Linked DNA regions of Homo sapiens: all the other regions are linked to region 7. Evidence: promoter capture Hi-C in 16 types of primary human blood cells and fetal thymus (Javierre and others, 2016). All regions are on one chromosome and are shown on one strand. Each heading gives the region's core, a stretch centred on a gene start or on the middle of the fragment in contact. The rest is flanking DNA. Distances are from core to core; before and after follow the strand shown.

Evidence for each region. Contacts are between HindIII fragments. The CHiCAGO score rates a contact against its expected background, and 5 or more counts as called.
Region 1: a fragment that was not itself captured here is called in contact with the fragment with the promoter of ANKRD31 in region 7 in 10 of 17 cell types (naive CD4 T cells, activated CD4 T cells, non-activated CD4 T cells and 7 more); the score reaches 21.6 in naive CD4 T cells.
Region 2: a contact is called between a fragment that was not itself captured here and the fragment with the promoter of ANKRD31 in region 7, in 1 of 17 cell types (non-activated CD4 T cells). The highest score is 5.4, in non-activated CD4 T cells.
Region 3: a contact is called between the fragment with the promoter of FAM169A here and the fragment with the promoter of ANKRD31 in region 7, in 1 of 17 cell types (naive CD4 T cells). The highest score is 5.1, in naive CD4 T cells.
Region 4: a fragment that was not itself captured here is called in contact with the fragment with the promoter of ANKRD31 in region 7 in 1 of 17 cell types (naive CD8 T cells); the score reaches 5.0 in naive CD8 T cells.
Region 5: a contact is called between a fragment that was not itself captured here and the fragment with the promoter of ANKRD31 in region 7, in 3 of 17 cell types (naive CD4 T cells, activated CD4 T cells and non-activated CD4 T cells). The highest score is 7.4, in naive CD4 T cells.
Region 6: a contact is called between a fragment that was not itself captured here and the fragment with the promoter of ANKRD31 in region 7, in 1 of 17 cell types (neutrophils). The highest score is 5.7, in neutrophils.

The regions. Positions count from the first base shown.
Region 1 is chr5:74,924,482-74,927,525 of GRCh38, forward strand. No RefSeq gene overlaps it. Among named protein-coding and RNA genes, the nearest start is that of FAM169A, 60 kb to the left of the region's middle. The HindIII fragment of the contact is 1,444 bases long and covers 931-2,374 here.
Region 2 is chr5:74,960,901-74,963,600 of GRCh38, forward strand. All of the region lies in intron 1 of LOC105379040 (a long non-coding RNA gene), which reads left to right. Among named protein-coding and RNA genes, the nearest start is that of GCNT4, 90 kb to the right of the region's middle. The HindIII fragment of the contact is 3,710 bases long and covers 1-2,700 here.
Region 3 is chr5:74,865,013-74,867,788 of GRCh38, forward strand. It overlaps FAM169A (family with sequence similarity 169 member A), which reads right to left and starts at 1,375. Exons shown (of 13, transcript NM_001376049.1): 1 at 1,153-1,375. It overlaps FAM169A-AS1 (FAM169A antisense RNA 1), which reads left to right and starts at 881. Exons shown (of 1, transcript NR_134288.1): 1 at 881-2,263. RefSeq lists silencers at 822-991, 1,062-1,311. The HindIII fragment of the contact is 5,081 bases long and covers 1-2,500 here.
Region 4 is chr5:74,849,035-74,851,798 of GRCh38, forward strand. The region is part of intron 1 of FAM169A (family with sequence similarity 169 member A); the gene reads right to left. Among named protein-coding and RNA genes, the nearest start is that of FAM169A-AS1, 15 kb to the right of the region's middle. The HindIII fragment of the contact is 2,611 bases long and covers 1-2,588 here.
Region 5 is chr5:74,943,522-74,946,341 of GRCh38, forward strand. No RefSeq gene overlaps it. Among named protein-coding and RNA genes, the nearest start is that of FAM169A, 79 kb to the left of the region's middle. The HindIII fragment of the contact is 5,206 bases long and covers 1-2,820 here.
Region 6 is chr5:75,523,513-75,526,452 of GRCh38, forward strand. The region is part of intron 1 of POLK (DNA polymerase kappa); the gene reads left to right. Among named protein-coding and RNA genes, the nearest start is that of POLK, 13 kb to the left of the region's middle. The HindIII fragment of the contact is 8,036 bases long and covers 1-2,940 here.
Region 7 is chr5:75,235,462-75,238,235 of GRCh38, forward strand. It overlaps ANKRD31 (ankyrin repeat domain 31), which reads right to left and starts at 1,417. Exons shown (of 26, transcript NM_001372053.1): 1 at 1,122-1,417. The coding sequence starts at 1,225. LOC124901006 (a long non-coding RNA gene) reads left to right here and starts at 1,577. Exons shown (of 2, transcript XR_007058823.1): 1 at 1,577-1,905. RefSeq lists an enhancer at 1,138-1,307 and a silencer at 1,358-1,657. The HindIII fragment of the contact is 5,895 bases long and covers 1-2,774 here.

The sequences.
Region 1 (3,044 bases), core at 403-2,902, 310 kb before region 7:
TGGGCGTGGTGGTGGGCCCCTGTAATCCCAGCTACTTGGGAGGCTGAGGCAGGAGAATCACTTGAACACAGGAGGGGGAGGTTGCAGTGAGCCAAGATTGTGCCATTGCACTCCAGCCTGGGCGACAAGAGCGAGACTCCATCTCAAAAAAACAAACAAACCAACAAAAAAACTCCTACAGTGAAAACTTTACTACAATAAGGGTGCTTGCTTGGACAAGGATGTTCAAACACATATACACAAGAACGCTCAAAATGTATCAGCTTCAATTCTTTCAGAGTGAGCCAAAATAATTTAGGGGAAAAATTATTTTGACTAAAAATTACATAATGAAATAATGACTAATAATGACAGAAGCATTACAATCTAAGCACCATGAGGACCATGCTAGATTTTTTTTTTTTTTTTTTTTGAGGCAGGCTCTCACTTTCTTGCCCAGGCTGGAGTGCAGTGGTGTGATCATGGCTCACTGCAAATTTGAACTTGTGGGCACAGGCAATTCTCCTATCTCAGCCTCCCAAGTAGCTAGGATTACAGGAGTGTGCCACTATGCTCAGCTAATTTTGTAATTTTTGTACAGGTGAGGTCTTTCCGTTAGCCAGGCTAGTCTCCAACTCCTGGCCTTAGCAATCCTCCCACCTCGGCCTCCCAAAGTGCTGCTGGCATTCTAGGCATGAGCCACCACTCCCAGCCAAAAAATCCTTCTAATCAGAAGTTCATTTTGAGGTATTTACGTTGATGGTAGTGTTTTGTTGTCACTGAGCACAACTTTGTCCCCAACCCTTTTTAACAGACACAAAGTAGACATCAAGTGGCTAAGGTGGTATACTGAATTTCTACTCTTCTAAGATTTTTAAAAATAATCAAATATTTGTAAGACAGCTAGCAACCTCATGAGCAAAAAAAAAAAAAAAAAAAAAAAGATCTGAAAGCTTTGTAGGATAAATTCAGAATTCTTTTTTTCACCTCTAGATGGTGCAAACTAAAAGTAATTTCTGTTTGTCAGGGTTTAGCTATGATAGATGAGTCCTAATACCTTTAGGTTTACTTTTCCTGTGTAACTATATAAAAGGCATTCCTGGCCTTATTTATCACAGTTTGCTTAGTTTATTTCTGAATACACTTACTTATGACCTATAGAAGTCTTAATAAATATGGAAGATCAATTTTACTAAATGCTCCTAATTGTCACTTTTTTTTTTTTTTTTTTTTTTTTGAGATGGAGTCTGGCTCTCGCCCAGGCTGGAGGGCAGTAGTGCAATCTCGGCTCACTGCAACCTGTGCAGTAGAGACAGGGTTTCACCATGTTGGTCAGACTGATCGTAAGCTCCTAACCTCGTGATCCGCCTGCCTCGGCCTCTCAAAGTGCTGGGATTATAGGATTACCACCACGCCTGGCTCAGTCTCAGGCATTTCTAACAATGCAAGAACGGCCTAACACAGCCAGTACCTCTCATCCATGGAGTTGTCGCTGCTTTCCTGAGGGCAATGTTTGTCCTTCGGTGGCAACTTAATAACTGCTGACTGACCTTGAACTCTCTCTCAGAGCATATGGAATGCCATCAGTTTATCTTCTACACAATTCAAAGTATTACTTCTAAATGTGAAGAAGTAATGGGCCATATTTTCCACTTTGAGCATATGTTGTAAAATGATGAGATAGCTCAGAGTTTGAAATCTTAACCAACTAATGCCTACTATAAGCATTTCCCTAGGAAATTTATATCTGTATAACACTGGTCTGTAGGACAAAAATTAAGGAGCAATTGATGTGATTTTGACAAGAAGCTGTTCCACAAATTCTATTTTTTAGTCGTTAGCCAACTGAAATAAGGTCTTAAAAGCAATATTCTGGGGACAAGCCCTAAAGACCCTCCAAGTACATTGGGATCATATTGTCTGGGCCAAACAAGACAATAATATCTATGCCATCCCAACTGAGTAAGTTTATATATGTGAACCACAGACCTGACTGAAGACAATTCCAAGAGGTTGAGCATTTTACAAAATATTTTATCTCTCTGGAATCTGAAGGTTTCAACATTTAAAAATTTTCATGTTAGATACTCATATATGCCAGTAAATTTGCATTTGTATATGATTTGAACTATGAGGTTTTGAACAGATTATTTCAACAAAGCAATGTACTAGTTCTGAAATTATTCTTATTTTAAATATCATTTGCATTTCTGTAAATGGAAAATTATATAAAAAATTCTAGCTCTTTTGACTGTCATTAGTATTTGACTAACACTGACTCCCCAAAGCCCTAAAAGAAAATAGCAGGAGTTGAAATTTCAGTTGCATTGGAGAAAATATGTACTTTGTTCCCTTAGAAATAAAGGAGAGCATGTTAGATGACCAGCCATGAAGAAGCTTGTCTCAATATGTTTTCTTTTGAAGCTCTAAGATAAAATAAGAGCTGTGCATATTACTGGGTATGAAAACCATCATGAACAAAAATCCAACACTGAGTGTTGCCGAAATGATACCAGTGTTGGTACAGAATTATATGGACAGGATAGGGGGCATTCATTATCCCAGATACTTCACTTTCCATGCTCAGCAGTGTGAACATGTAAGTAAATTGTAACTTATTACTTGCGGGTCAATTGATTTCCCACTGGCACATCTCTGGATTCATTTCTATTGGGTCTCCTCTTAGACAGTTTTTACAGAGCCTCAAAATGCGTATAGCCTGGAGGAGGCCATCAGTGTCTTAATTCACAACCTGGTGTGTGTGTGTGTGTGTGTGTGTGTGTGTGTGTGTGTGTGTGTGTGTGTAGAGAGAGAGAGAGAAAAAAAAGGAGGAAGAGAGAGAGAGAGACAGAGAAAGGGACGGAGAGGAAATTGTTCTCTTTCTCCTACTCCCTCAGAAGAGGGGGCATGGAGCTGTGGGAAAGGTGGGGCCCTCCAGGAGGCTAGAACCCTGCACCACCTGAAAGAGTCAGGAGGGCCCAAGTGTCTCGTCTCCTGAGGGTGTGTGTGTGTACACTACCATCGTGTGTCCAGGAGGAGATTCCTGTCCTAGAAGGGATTTCTCC
Region 2 (2,700 bases), core at 36-2,535, 270 kb before region 7:
AATGGCACGATCTCAGCTCACCTGCAAACTCTGCCTCCTGGGTTCAAGCAATTCTCCTGCCTCCGCCTCCCGAGTAGCTGGGATTACAGGCATGTGCCACCATGCCAGGCTAATTTTGTATTTTTAGTAGAGATGGGGTTTCTCCATATTGGTCAGGCTGGTCTTGAACTCCTGACCTCAGGTGATCTGCCCGCCTCGGCTTCCCAAAGTGCTGGGATTACAGGCCAGCCACCACGCTCAGCCTGTGACTTGATTCTTATAATGACTGCCTAGTGTTTCATTGTATGTCTATATCATAATATAATGGACATTTAAGTTGTTCCTATTTTTCTGCTATTACAGCCACTACAGCAATTAACATCATTGCAGCATATTTTCTTGGTATTCATTGTAAGTGAGTATTCGGCATAAATTCCTAGATTTGGAATTTTTCAAATATTCCTGTAAGGTGCTACCGGTTTATATTCAGACCAACCATTTTATAGGAAGGTTCCTGTTTCCTCACCCTCTTACTCTTCACTGATATTATCTTTTAAATTTAAGATAATCAGTTACATAAAAATATCTTATTGTTTCAATTAGAATTTCTTTGGTTCTTGCTGAGAATGAGATCATTATGTTTATTGCACATTTGTTTTTCTTCTATAAATTATCTGTGTCCTTTGCCATCTTTCTATTAGATGGAAATTTCTTATTGATTTGTGTAGGCTTTTTATTTATATGGCTATTAATCCTCTATGTAGTTTCTCTAGAGTGTTGTTTATCTTTTTATTTTATTAAAATGTAAGGGTGGATAATACATTTTATAAGATTCAAAAATCAAACCTACACAGAAAGGTAAACACAGAGGAGTTGCATTTCCACCTCTGTCCCTCCACCTGTCCCTCCCAATCCCTTACATGGAATCATTTTCCTGTGCTTCATTGTGTAGATATAAGCAAAAATGCCTGTATAGTGTTTCTCTCCTTTATTTTTAAAACATAAAATGTAGCACATGATAAAAAATCTGGAAGAAACCTAAGTGTCCATCAAGAGACGAATGGATAAAGAAAATGTGGTACACATACACAATGGAGTACTGCCATAAAAAAGAATGAGATTCTGTCATTTGCAACAGCATGGATGGAACTGGAGGTCATTATGTTAAGTGAAATTAGCTAGGCACAGAAAGACAAACACCGCATGTTCTCACTTATTTGTAGGTGCTAAAATTTAAAATAATTGAGCACATGAAGATAGAGAGTAGAATGATGTTTACCAGAGGCTGGGAAGAATAGTGGGATGGTGGGGACTGGGGATGGTTAAAGGGGACAAATATATAATTAGATAGAATAAATAAAATCTAGTATTTGATAGCATCACAGGGTGACCACAAACAACAATAATTTATTATAAATTTAAAAATAGATAAAAGAGTATAATTGGATTGTTTATAACACAAAGAAAGGATAAATGCTTGAGGAGATGGAGACCCCATTTACCCTGATGTGATTATTATGCATTGTATGGCTGTATTAAAATATCTCATGTACCACATAAATATATACACCTACTATGTACCCACAAAAATGAAAAAATTTTAAGAAACCCTGCAAATCTAACCAAAAAAGAGGGACAGGCAAAAGATCTAGAATGTTTCAGGAACTCCTCTAAGAAAGTGCTTCTTGACCCACCCTCAACCCAATTATTCACTCCTGTAATACCCTGTATATTCACCTATCCAATAAGTGGAGTTACACTTACCATGTCCAATAGAAATTTTCTGGTTTTGGTACTCATATCATCATCACTTTCTTGTATTTATATCTATTTTTTCATATATGTATATACAATTGATGTATAAAGGTGTTTATCTCGGAGTGGGCAAGATTTCAGGTGATTTCTACCTTATCAGGTACTTTTCATATTTAAATGTTTACAGATTAAGAATACAAAATCTACAAACAAAAAAAATTCTTTCACAAAAGAGAAATAAATGTTCTGATATTATTTTTTTCACTTAATATTGACTTAATATAAACTACTGATATCCAGGTAACTGCTCCATATCAGTCCATAGGGATCTTCTTCATTCTGTTTTCAGCTGCGTGGTACTCTGTTGGTGGATGTACCATACTCTATGCTGGGCACTTGGGTGTTTACAATTATTTTATCATTACAAACAAAACAAATCAGTTTTTGCTTATTTCATTTTGTATCTCTGCAGTGTAGTGTATTTGTAGAATAGATTCCTGAGAAGTGAAATTGCTGGTCAAAAAGTTGTCACCTTTCTTTTTACTTTGTGATGATGACTTTCATTATAAAGAAGTTTTCATTTTTTGTGTTAATTTTTTCTACTTATTGTTTTTGGATTTTGTAGTGCCTTCTTTGGGAAGAAAGGTCTGCTTGGACTATAAATTATAAAGGCATCCTTTACCGTTTTCTCCCAAAGCATGCGCGCACACACAATCTTCACTGTGTATGGATTTCCTATTGTCTGTGATGTAAGAGTCTAATTATCTTCTCCCATAAGGATATCCCATAATACTTTACGCCTTATTTGAGGAACTTATCACCTTCTTCCTCTTTCTGCCTGGAAAGATAAATCTGTGTCAAATATTACCTCTCCTACTAGACAGTGAACTCCTGGAGAGCAGATATTATGCCTTATTCATCTTCACATACCTGATAGTCCCTACCACAATCCTGACTCATGACAGA
Region 3 (2,776 bases), core at 125-2,624, 370 kb before region 7:
ACACCAAACCCAGATCCACTTCGGTGAATTCCCTCCAGGGCCCAAATGTGTGCATTATGCAACAGCCAGCACTCCCGATTGTAATCCCTGTCTGTGATGCAATGACAAAATATAAATGGCTTGGGTATAATCTGCTCAGTTCGTAAGTAGTAATTCGCAAGAAGCCAACGAATTAAAAGAATTCCCAAATTCTCAGGAACCTTGAAAATGACAAATTGTGTCACAGTTCTGTGAGAATCACAATGAAAACTTTCCCTTCTGGAAATTTTTTAGAAATATGTCCCTCCGGTCCCAATCCCCCAAAAACCCGTACACACGTTTTAATTTACGTTAGGAACGGCTCTCCCAGCGGGGGAAGGTGACCTGCATCAGGTGGTTATCTTCGAATCCACCCGATACGATACCCACGCCGCTTCCCAGACGCTGAAAAGCCAGTGAGATGCTTCATCCTTTCTCCCCAAGGACAGTCATGGGAGTCAGTGTAATCCAGACCCCCGAGCCATAAACCACCCAGGGTTCAAGGCTTCACCTCCTGAGGCACAGGCCTCTTGAAAAATGGCATAATGGAGAGCTGAGAACACAATTAGGACAAAACTGCAACGACCAGCATTCCAGAGGAGGGAGAATCATACAATATCTGTTCCAAAAGTAGTTACAGGTAAAGGAAGGCGGTCAGAGCATCTCTGGAGGCCACCTGGTCGGGTGAACCGAGTCTAAACGCTGAAGTTCCACACCTCCCCGAGTCCGCGTCTCCCCAAGCCAAAGCAATCAGCTCGCACGCCAAGCATCCAGGTGGGGAGAGGGCGAGGGGAGGGGGCGGCAAGCCGCAGCTGCGAACCGGCCCGCGGCGGAGGCGAGCGAAGACGGGCATTCCCTCACACAAAATGGTGGCGCCGAGGCGGAGGCCGGCGCACCTGGGGGCGCCACACGCCCTACGGGATCCCCGCAGACCGCCGCCAGCTGGACGCGAGCCCCGGGTCCAGGCGGCCCGCACTGGTCTGCGCCAGGCCCAGCCCGCAGGGGCCGCCCACAGCCGGTGGCCCGCGTCGCCGCTCGGTGTCCGCGGGTCTGGTGCTGGCGGGGGCGCGGGGCCCGGCGCGGCCGTCTCGGCCTCACCCAGCGGTCCGCGCCGGGGAGAGGGAGCGCACTCACCTCAGACGCGCCCCGGGAGCCGCTGGAAGAGCCCGGGAAAGGAGGCGGAGCCGCGCGAATGAATGGAGCCGGCGGCTGCTCGCTGGCGACCTCCGGCCGGTCCCAGGCCGCACAGCTCGCGGCTGCCAGGGCGAGTGCGGCTGCCTCCCGCTCGCCCCGGACGCCCGGCTCCTCGTCGCGGGTCGGCCGCGGCCCACCGTGCCCTCCGACGACGTGACGCACTAGCGCCGCAGCGCCTCCAGCCTTCGCTTCCGCTCCGCGCCCGCGCCCACCGCGAATCCCCCCGCCCGCCAGCGCGGAGCGGCCCCTCCTCGGAGCCTGGGACGCCGCCCTGCCTCCCTCCAGCCCCGGCTTTCAGGCGCCGGCCCGGCAGGTGCGGGCTTGGCCAGCCCGGGGGCGTCACGCGGCCCCCGCCTCGCCACCCGCGCCCCCTCTCTCCGCCCCGGCCGCCGTCACCCGGCAGCGCGACGCCCAGCTCAGGGCAATGGCCTGGTATTAAAGAGTGACCTTGGCTTAGATATAAAAATAGATGCGGTTAAGCCGCGGGGGCTGCAACGCTGATTTTGCGTATTCCTTTAATGCCGACCTTCGCAGGATTCTGTTCGCATAGCCCGGTGGAGTTCTCCAGCCCCGCGTAGGCCCTCCTGAAATTTACCCAGAGTGGGCGCGGCCATCCCGGCCTCGGGACAGGGGTGCAGAGGGCACGGGCGAGGACCGCCGGCCTCCGCCCCACCACTTTCATCCTAAACCTACTGCCACTTAGGTGCATGCAAGTTAGAATCGTGGGCTGCTTTCACAGTCTACAGAAGTCCTAGAGCCCGGACTTTCATCTGGAGATGTCAGGGAAATACCACATTCCTGCGCTGACCTTTTCTCTTTCACCGTTTAACCGGTACAGAATAACCCTGACCCAGAAAGACAACAGGGTTCCATCCGGCTTTCCTCCCGTGCCTCTCCCAGCTCTATTCTACCGTCTTATGGCCTCTGGCGCCTTTGCTAATTACACACTCCTACTGAAAATTAGCCCTCCAGCATTTAAAACATGATAAATTGTCTTTAAGGTAATGCGTATTGTAGTCTAAATATATTTAATAACTGTATTGAGAAACAATATTGTATCTAAGTATTAATGTCAAGACTTTCTTTTACTCATCATCCAAGAACCGTAGTATTATGTTCAGCTCATCCAGAAAAGTTGAAAATTGCTTCTTTCATTCCTGGGAAATATTTAGCAATCACAATACCAACTTTCACGAATTTACTAATGATTAGCAAAATTAGCAAGATCAAAAAATACTTCAAAGAATGCTTGTTGATATAGATATATTTGACCCTGATTTTTAAAAAAAGCTTTTCTGCCATATAAGAATCTATTGTTTCATTTGTATAATATTTAATTAGCCAAAATCTTTACTATTACACATCATTTACCATTTTAATGAAACTTAATGAATTAGATTTAATAGAGCAGGAATTTTGGGTAGTTGGGTTCTACCCATAGCCAGTGATGAATGAAATTATATGACTTGTATTTACATTTCTAGAGCTATGTGTAAGTAGGAGTCCCCAGGGTAATCCCAAACAATTGCCATTTGGGGAAGCTTTGGCTACCAGACTATGCCCT
Region 4 (2,764 bases), core at 33-2,532, 390 kb before region 7:
CTCATCAAAAAACTGACACAGAATGGACAGCGAAGTGTAAAAAGTGTCCAAACTAATTTACAAATTAAGCGAATGGTATGCTCATTAATCCAGGGTAAGCTGTATAAAAACATAATACCAAGACCTCTTATATAAGAGATCTAAGATCATGAGCATCTGCTATATTGTATCTACCTTTTAATAATTCCTTTTTCCCAAAAAAATTATGTATTTGACAGAATGGATAACCTTAAGAAAAGCATGAAAAGAGTTAGAAAACAAATTTATATTATTGTGATTTTTTCCCTATTTATTGTTGATTACTGGATGCCAACTATATTCTGAAAAGATGGGAACATATTCTACATGTTCAGCTCGTAAGTTATTTCATGATTCTTACAGGTTACTGCTATTATTTGGGGGCTTTGTGGAGAGAGGCAGACCCAAAAAGAAGTATGTACACTATAGAGCTGAAAGAATTCTCAGGGAAAAAAATAATTATCTCAACCAATCCAATTCATGATCCTAACTCTCACAATGGTCTCTCCAACACCGAGAATAGGTTAGGTATCCAGGCAACATAATCAGCAATGCTCTCAACCTTATTTCTGAACCTTATTATGATTCCTCTCTTGATCCCTCCCTTTTCTGTTTTCTAACATCATTTCCTTCCCTAATTAACCTGGGCCCTGTACTACATCAGCTCAACTAATCCCTTTACCTTACTTTTTCTTCCATCACTCCTGCCCTACACAAGGTCCTAAACGCTAGATTCCTCTAACCACTCATCTTTTTCTACTATGAGAGCCGAGTTTTTGAATATGACAAAATAACTGCTACAACTATCAAAATCTCAGATGGGCCTCAACACTGTTCAGCAATCCTTTTCTGTTTTCTGGGAAAGTAAAAACATTTAATTATGTATGGGTTAGGACGGCCTATAAATTAGGTAATAGAGCAGGAAGTTGAATGGGATTCATATCTGTTGGCTCTCCTTATTTCAAGCAGGAAGCAAAACCATCTTTTGAAGTTATAACCACTAATCCGATAGTGGACTATGTGCCAGGTTCTATTCCGAACACTTCACGTGTATCACCTGATGTAACTTTTATCTAAAACCCATGAGGTGGGTGTTTTAATTCTCTTCACTTGGCCGAAAAGGAAACAAAGACACAAAGTGGCTGAGTAACTTGTTCAAGGCCACACTACTAGTAAGCAGCAGAGCTAGTATTTGAACCCGGCAGTCGGACTCCGATGTCTGTTTTTTTCCATCACATTGGTATGTCTGAAAGCACAGCATCTCAGGCAGCCCTAATACGGTTAAAGATTGCTTAATATATGTCAGGGGAAGTGTTCCAAGTATTCTTTCCAACTCAAGGTTTAATTCTCTCTTCATGTACAGGAAAATACTCCTAGATAAGAAATCATTTAAGCATGAAGATACTGCGTATTTGGTATGTTTTAGGCCTTCAAAAGCAAAATCCAGCTATATTGCAAAGGATTTTGAGAGTGTGTGAAAGCTGGTATAAAATACTGGTTAAGGGAGTGTATTCTTGAGCCAAACTAACAGGATTACTAGCTATGTAACCATGGGCAAATTACCTGAACATACAGAACACATAGAGGAAAATTCCTTCTGGTTGAGAAAGGAATAAACTGCTGCAACTAATAACTAGAAATCAATCAAAACTTTTGCATCTAAAAAGAAAAAACTCAGAGGCAAATTATAACCAGTATGACTTATACAATCTAATACCTTAATACAGATGAATAATGCAGTGTTTTTTTTAAAAGCTAAGATGCAAATAAATAAGCAAAGGTCATGAATAGAAAATTCATAAAACAGGAAAAACAAACCACTTCTTTTTTTGAAAAAATGCCTACTTGCATTAGTTTTTTGCTTTGTTTTTGTTTGTTGTTAGAGACAGAATCTCACTCTGTCACCCAGGCTGGAGTGCAGTGGCACGAACATAGCTCACTATAGCCTCAAACTTCTGGGCTCAACAATCCTCGTACATCAGCCTCCTGAATGGCTAAGAATACAGGCACATGCCACCACACCCAGCTAAGTTTTTTAAAAGATTAATATGTCTGTACAGCAAAGTCTGGAAGGATACATTATAGTGTTAACAGTAATTACTCCTGGTAAGGTGAAGGAAGAAGAGAGAGGGCCCCAAGGCAGGAAACACAAGAGAAGAAAGTCAATTCCCCTTAGGGCCTCCTTCCTCCAGTAGCTCACTTCGTAGTGCAGTCTCTCTTGGATACGGCCTATCTTGTGATAGGCAAAATTTGGGTTACATGCCTCCATCCTAATTCCAAGGGAGACAAAATATCAATTTTTAGTGTTCCACCCTGGGGAGCCAAAGCAGGACTCATAAGGCTGAAATGAAACTCATAAAGTTATTTCAAAGGTGCTCAACAGTTGGAACACAAAATACATACTGAATTACCACACCCAGGAATGGATGATAAATCATTATCTTAATATCTATATTCTATGAACAGGAAATAGAGAATGCTACTTACTTGCCTCGAAACATTTGCAAAAGCCTAACAATAAATTAATAGATATTTAAGAGAGAAAGAAATAGAAATGGGCTTGTAATTGAAGCTTCCACATGATCCTACTACATACTGTAGTACAGTAAAGTAATACATTTGCCTGTGGAATATGTCAGCAACTCTGGTACTTCACAACCCAGACTACTAAATACTCTTTATAAATCAGCAGTGTACAAAGCTCAGGAAAGAAAAAATAAGCACTTAAATTAATAAATCATAAAAT
Region 5 (2,820 bases), core at 312-2,811, 290 kb before region 7:
AACTCAATGTATGCCTTTGAGGCTTGACAGCTTTGCTGAATTATGAATCCCTCAGGGAAGACAGACATAATTTGTTACCTAAATATAAGAACTACGAGCAACAGTTTCCTATCACTTGTTGGCCATTTGATGAATTGATTCTTGATGATTGACACTAACAAACTGATTACATATGTGTGTATACACACCTTAAGGGAATGGAAAGATAGCCGTGAGAGAAGAAAAGGATGGTAAAAGAAAAAAAAAAAACACAACAGTGATGTCTTTCAAAGGCAGATAACTGAGTTCTATCTGTAAACTTCCTTTGCTTGTGAATTCATTTGTAAACACTAATCCATATCTAGTTCACTCAATTTGAGAATATTTAATAAGAAAAACTTCATTAATTAAACACACTTGTTTTATTTTTTGGAAAAGGAAAAGATAAATGTAATTATAAACCCACAGTAACAAACCATAGAAAAAGTTAAGTATCTTTCCCAAAGAATGAGAATAACTTAGGAGAAGAAACTAAAACATTAGTAGGACTCTGAGAAAGTATTTCCCAGCATTTTACAAGCTCTAGCAGCCTCTGTAGGGTTGAAAAGGTACTACCCATCACCAGGGTCATGGCAGATACTCCTACAAAAAAAGGCAGGTGAGCAAGAGAGACGCACAGCACATTTGTTAACAAAGTTTTATGTGACATGGGAGCTTTTTGAAATGAAGACCCAAAGATCCAAGGAAAACTGTGTAGTTTTATGGTTTTCTTTCACGGAGAATGGACAAGCATGTAGAAATGTGATTGGACAAACGATTGAATGAGAACGAACTGAGAGGGAACCCACTAAGACCTGTTTGTGCAGATTCTTCCTGGCCAATCTGTAACATTTCTTCCTTTGGGGGTCGAGGGCAAAACACCTGTCATTTCGCAGCCTTTAGGGGAGAAGGGAGAAGGTCAGACAGTAATATTTCTTGCTTTGAGGGAGAGGAGTTCTACTTTCTATGGCTTACTTCAGGAGAGAAATGAGGGAAAGTGAAGGAAGATGGGAGAAGGTCAGAGGGAATTTTTTGCTCTTCTAGGGATGGAAAAATTCCACTTCCACCCTCTTAGGGTCTTGGCTGGGTCTGAGAATTAAATTAACATAATATAGATTAACAGGTGAAAAACATACAAATTTATTTAATACAAGTTTTACATGGCAGGGGAGCCCTCATGCATAAATGAAGACCCAAAGAAGCAGTTAGAGTGAGTTACTTATATACTGAATTGGACAAGGAATTACAAGTTGTGAAGAAGCAACTAACTTGTGTGGAGAGGCTTTAAAAGATAAGAGTGATTCTATCAAAGTCTACAGTATTCTCTTGGTTTTAACTTTTCATCCCTGAAGATAAGGATGCTGTCTTTCCTCCTAGTACAGGGAGAGTGTCTTCCACACTGGAATTTCATCTTCTGCTCTTAAGAAACAGCATGAAGGTCAAAGTGATCTTCTGGCATCTGCTGTTTTTCAGGTGTTTTTAGCTTAAACAGTTAACATGCCAGAATATCATATTTGAACACCTTAACTTCTGAGGCCCTTCCATCCTCCTTCAGTCCAAAGTACCCACTATGCCAAAGTACCAAATTTTGGGGTATCACGCTCTGAGCTCTAATACCTCTTAATTAAATATAGTGATGGTCATTTTAAAACATACTATTTTTATACAAAAATATGTAGGTATTAGAAAATATACACTTTAAAAAATTACTTGCAATTCCACTTTCCAGAAAGGATAGAATTTGCATTTTGGTGATTATATTTTCAGAATGTTTTCTATATGGGGCTTTGAGGCAGAGAAAAGAAATGAAGTGGCAGAGAGGATATCAAATATTGTGATATTTTGAGAAATCCTTTGAGGAATTTTTACAGATATATATATATAAATATTTGACAATTCCAAATTATTTCAGAGTAATTGATAAATCCAAAAATTTGCACAAGAAAGAGTAAGACCTAGAAGATGATGAAAACATCACAGAGAAGGAGTGGGGGTAGATACCAGTCATGAGAGGTGATCTATTTGTAAGTCACAAAACTAATACTGTTGTCTTGACTGGTATTGAAAATTCAACAAAAGAGGAGGAGGAGGTGGAGACATAAAATGAGAACTATCAGAGTGTAATTTTGAAACTTGTTTCAAGTGTGTGGGCAGGCAGTGGTCGGGGAGGGCGCTCTGGTATATCAGTGCACTCCATACTTGAGTTGAGGTTAAAAAATGCATGCATATCACAATAGCAGATTGAAACCTTATACACTGAGCCCTTGGAGAGCAGAACAAAGAGGAAGTGGAGAAAGGATTCCACCACCAGGTGATAATACTCACCGGTCCAAAGGGAAATAAGAGAGGGAAAAATCATTGCATTCAATCAAAACCTTATGCTCTGATGCCAAACTTACACTGCCCAGCTAATGGAAGTGGTTTGACCCATTGACCTGCAGGGTACAACATTAATACTTTAAAGACTCATCACATGTCCTCTTGAGAAAAGAGTGCACTCCTTCCAGGATGCTTCTGACACTTCACTCCCCGTTCCAGTAGCAGCTGAAAGATTATGCCTCTTTTGACTGGGTTTCCTTGTAACCCTGACTAAAAACTACCTTAGGCTTGAGGGGTTGGATGGACTATCTCCCTGGGTCAAGCCGGGAGTCAGAGGTTCTTAGTGAATTCAACTGAGATTAAATTTTGCTATGTAATTAAATCACAGCAAAAACTACAATGATATGGAGGAGAGAAGACAGCCTGTGGTTTGGAACATAACTCAGTCTGCTATTAAAATGCATAGGGTGTCTATAGCTAACA
Region 6 (2,940 bases), core at 420-2,919, 290 kb after region 7:
AACTCCAGATACAAAGGCTTTCTGCAAACAAAGACCTTTGCTTCTTTCTAGGAATTTTTGCTGGTTTTACTGTGGAATGAGAACCCAAACTGTTTTGTGATTAAGTTAAACAGGTACATGATTCAAGCAGTAGGTTTTGTAGGTTATATTCTTGAAAGAAGGCCTGGGAATTTTTGAAGCCTTGGAAAGCCTTGGGTTTTTTTGTTGGTTTGTTTTTCACTTGAGAGTGTTTTTAAACTAGAAAACAATTTAAATATATGCGTGATGAGGATTCTGGGGAGGTGAGGAAGGCATCTTTGTTGCATGTCAGAGACAGATAAAACTTTCACATTGTAGGCTGGGCACCATGGCTTACACCTGTAATCCCAGCACTTTGCGGGGCCGAGGCAGGCAGATCACCTGAGGTCAGGAGTTCAAGACCAGCCTGGCCAACATGGTGAAACCTCGTCTCTACTAAAAATGCAAAAATTAGCCAGATGTGCTGGCGGGCACCTGTAATCCCAGCTACTCAGGAGGCTGAGGCAGGAGAATCACTTGAAACCGGGAGGCAGAGGTTGCAGTGAGCTGAGATTGCGCCACTGCACTCCAGCCTGGGTGACGAGTGAGACTCCGTCTCAAAAAAAAAAAACAACAAAAAAAAACTTTCAGATTGTAAAAAGGGCAGATAAGAGGAAGCAGGAGTAGGAGGATGTGCTCATAGAGAATATGAGAACCTGTTTCATCTCTGTACTTTGAAGGTAGGGGTGGACAGTTCACAGAATAGGTTTAAATCTAGGAACTGAGTCAGTCCCAGGTGCCTTCCTTAAATACTTGTGGGTTGAATGACTGTCTTAACCCATCTGAAACCAATCTAGGATTAAAATTTTAGAAGACAGTGGAGTTTAATTGGCTGCTCTCCTCTCTTAGGCTCTTGGAGAAGTCAGTGCTGTCAGCAAACATCTGTTTAAACATGTGGAATAGCTGTACTTTGGAGAGCAAAAGTTATTTTAGTACTTTAGGAATATGAAGTAAATTACGTATAAGTTTATTTGCTTTTAAATTTTTGAGAAACTTCTACTTCCAGTATGGAGAAGTAAGCTCTTGCACATGACTGAAAACCTAGAAAAAAAAAACAAAAAAATCAATTACTTGTGGGGTCTGGAACAAAAAACAGATAGATTTTGGAGGGTATCAAACTTTGACAAAGCAACCCTTACAGAGTGAGATTCTCATTCTTTGCAGCTTTGCCTTGAGGGCAGGCACAGTAAGGCATAACTAATGTTCCAGTACAAAACCCCCCATTATTCTGTCCAAAAGAACCAGGGGAAGGGGGCCAGTGCTACCAAAGAGTAGGGAAGGCACCCAAGAAAAGAGAGAGCCAGATAATGGAAATTCTAAATGCTGTATAATAGCTTCACCTGACTCTCTGACTTGCATAGTCTACATGCATGCCCACGGCAAATTGAGAGCAATCTGAACTGAGATCTGAGTCTCTCTCCTTACCAGACATAGAGAGTTTTCAGTTAGAATTTATTTGCCTGCTAAAACAAAAATATTAACACTCTTCAGAAAGATAAAACAGAATCTAGAGTTCTTACAACATAGCATTTACAGTATCGAGGATATAATCTAAAATTACTTGATATATGAGCCAGGGAAATGTGAACTATTTTCAAAGAAAAGACAAGTCAACAGATGGTAACCCCAAGATGATCCAGATGTTGAACTATCTGACAAAGACTTTAACACAACTATTAAAACTGTGCTTAACGAAGTAAAGAAATATGTTTGTATCATTATAAAGAAAGGAAATCTCAGCAAAAAAGGAAAATATAAAAAATCAAATGGAAACTGTAGAACTAAGAAATACAATATCTGAAATCAAAATGATGTTACTAGATGGACTTAATAGCAAAATGGAAATGACAGAGGAATTGGTCTGTCAGTTCGAAGATAGAGCAATACAAAATAACCAATATGAAGAAGAGTAAGGGAAAAAATTAAAAACAACAACAACAACAGAAAAGGAAAGTCAGGTACCTGTGGAACAACAGCAAAGGAGTAATAACAGGAGTAACAGGTAATTGAACCTCCAAAGGGAGATGAGAGAGATTATAGGAAGAGGAAGAAACAATAGTAATAGCCACAACTTTCTCAAAATAGGAAAACATACATAGAGGAACAACAATTTGAGTGATCATGGCCTTAGCAGAAATAATGGAGTCTAGAAAACAATGGAGCAACATCTTTAAAGTACTGAAAGAAAAAAGCTGTCAATTCAATTCTATATCTGATGAAGATATCTTTTGAGAATGAAGATAAAATAAAACTGGCATCTTAGGTGTAGTTGTGTATTTGGCATACTGATTAAGAATGCGGGCTCCGGAGACAGAATCTAGATTTGAGTTTCAGCCTGAGTACCTCTTGTGATCATGGGTGAATTATATAAATTCTCTAACCTCAATTTCCTTATGTGTTAAAGACACTTAAATGAAATATCTAAACTAATGAGTAGCAATGAGAGGATGCTTCTTAAGCACTTAGTATCTGCTTGGCATATGGTAAATTGTTGGAAAACATTAGTTACCATTTATATATGCATGTTTTTAGCTTTCATAGTAAATATAACCAACCTTTATAGAATTTCGTATTTTATATTTTTATCTGTTTCATTTTTGTTCAACTGTAGAGAGGTTGGCTGTATCTTGAAAAGGGAAGAGTGAGACTCCGTCTCTTAAAAAAAAGAAAAAAGAAAAGGGAAGAAACCACTGACAGTATTGTAAAAGAGAAATCACTTTTACTACTGCTTTGACTTCAGCAAAAACAAGATTTAGGAAGCTCTTATTTTCAGAAAAGGAAATGAGAGGGGAAATTTTTCTCTCTTAGAAAATAAAAAACCTCAGCACCTAATTAATAAGATTTTTACTATGTAAATTAAACTTTATCCAATCATTCTTTGTC
Region 7 (2,774 bases), core at 167-2,666:
ACGAGTTTCAGTTTGTTTTCGGTTTTTTGGTTCTTTTTTGTCTTTCAGCTTTGAACCATCCAGTGGGCACAGACAGTAAACCTATTTTTATCCAGAAGACCAAGGAAAATGACCCCTGCATGCCAGAAGGTATAGGACAAAGCCCAGGGCTTTATGTTGCTTTCTCTCTCACCTCCCAGCCCTGCCCCAAGGCTGGCCCTAGCCTCAGAGCAGACACCAACCATGGCAACTGGGGAACATAAAACTCAAGAGAAAGTGTCTACCAGAGGAACTGGGAAAAGGGATCGGTATTGCCTGAAAAGTGTGGACAGAATCCCCCTTTTTTCTCTCTTTTCTTAACTCTGTGCTAAAGGCTGTCCCCCTTGTAAGGAACTGCTGTATAGTGAAAAGGCTAACACTCAAAGAAACCTGTCTTTCTGATCATATGAACTGGCAAGTGGGTATGATGAGGAAAGGGGGCAGGAGAATCCTGGAGAAGAGAGAGAGGGAAAGGAGAATGACCTAATTCTGTGTACGATCCAACTTAAGTCCCAGACACAGCCCTGAGCACATATGAAGCAGACCTAGTGGCCTCATCCCTGCCCTCTTTTCCCTGTGTCTAGCACAGAGAATATGTTAGAGAAAGGTTTCGATAACCTGAAATACCGACTTTTTTGGATTCGTATAAAACTATTCGTTTCCAGTTTGGCAGGGACCAGTTTCCCCATCACACATTCTTTTCTTGAGAGAAACTGTTACCCATTTTCCTAGAACTGAGCTACGAGTCTCTTGAAGCAAAATGAAGTCTCCTGAAACAAAATGCAGTTAAGTTCAGACCCAAGATCTTTTTTGCTTGTGCAAAAAGACTTAAAGCCCCCAAAAGGAAAGCCTTTTGAAAAATGCTATAAAGCCACCTAGTACAAACCTCATTTTATCCCTAGCTGGTTGGGGGTAGGTGGGAACAGACTGTGTTTGCTTATTTACAAGCTCTCAGCTCAGGCACGGCTGCCCCACAAGGCTCTGATCCTGCCCACAAGCACATGTTCTGGTCACGATCTCCACTCAAAACTCTGACCCCCTCAGAGGGCACCTGGGCCGCCCTGGCGCGAGGGTTCAGGCACTGTGGCCCTAATGATGGTCACCTTCTCCAGGGCAGCTCCTTTTCTTCCAGGTCGCTCTCCGTCACTGAACCCTCTATCACAGTTTCATCACTGTCCCAGTCTGGGGCCTGGACGCCTTCCTCCATCTTTGCCTCACATTCAAAGTCTTTTTTACCCTCCTCTAACTCCCTCTTGCCCGCAAACAAAAAAACGCTTTGAGGGCCAGGGGAAATTGTGAATTAAAAATAAAAATAATATAATCGCAGCAGGAGCCGGGACTTGTCGCAGGGCTGCTGAGGAGGACGCAGGCGGCCGCGAGCGCGGCGGGGTAGCAGTCTGCGAGGCGGCCCGCGGGTCCCGCCGCTCGTCGCAGACAGGGGGCAGCCGCTCGCCACACGACGGAGCCCTGCGCAGCGCTCGGCCCCGCCCCCAGCTCCCGTGGCCGGAAGTGGGAGGCCGCGCGCGCGCGCGCAGGCCTACTCTGGGCGTGGCCTGCCGCTGCGTGTTTTTTTCACGGTTTCTCATTCTCGGTCGCTAGGCTTTGAGGGTGCTGGGGTTGCTGCTGCAGAGACCAGAAAGGCAGGCGTGGCGCACCCAGAACTCAGACCGAGCCTGCTTAACACCCTTGGCCGGGAGGGTGACCTGCCATGCACCTGATGCTTGTGAGCCCCAGATACGGGAAGAGCTGTCAGCTCCTGCCCGCCCCAGCAGCCCTGGCATTCTGGAGCCAGAATGCGACCTTAGACCTAAAGAGAGTTTTTGCAGCCCACCAAGTGCTTCCTTTCCCTTTAATCCCTTGACAGCCTCTCCTCAAGTGTCCTCTGAGGTAGACAAAACAGATACGTTTATCAGAAGTTTTAGCTCATCAACTAATCTCAGTGATGTATTTTGCATTTTTTTTTTCTCTCAACAACGCTTTGGTTACCTGAAATACAGATTATGCAGGAAAGGCAGGATAAATGCTTTATTTTTTCCTCTTTTATCAATTTTTATAATAATAGTAATGCCTAGCAACCTCCAAAAGTAGTCAATTGCGTTTTAATGAAGTACTAGAATTTTATATATTTGATGTGTTTCAGTCTAGTTGAACATTTTTAATTCAAACTAATTCAAAACAAAGCCAAGTGAGCTTCCACTTGCCAAGTGAGAAGAAGATTCAAGAAAAGACCAAGTTGTTTTCCCATAGCAAGTGTTTAGTATTCACCTTGGAGTCTCCAGCATCTAGCACATATAAAGTCTAAGTTTTGTCATAAATGGATGGAGCTAGAGATTTCTGACTTCCCAATTCATTGCCCTTTTCACTATATGGAGTAGCTTTGCCATTATTATCATTATTATTATTTTGTGTTTTTACTATGTATATTCAAGCCACTGCTATTTAAAATGCTTGATTGGTGATTATCTTCTAAACTTAACTTGAGGCTGGGGGTGGTGGCTCTACCTGTAACCTCAATGCATTGGAGGCCGAGGCAGGAGGATTGCTTGAGACCAGAAGTTCAAGACCAGCCTGGGCAACATGGTGAGACCCCTATCTCTGCAAAAAATTTGTTTTTAATTAGCAGGGCATGGTAGCATGGGCCTGTAGTCCCAGCTACTCAGGTTGAGGCGGGAGGATCGCTTGAGCCCAGGAGTTTGAGGTTATAATGAGCTATGATTGAGCAAACGCACTCCAGCCTGAGCAACAGAGTCATACCA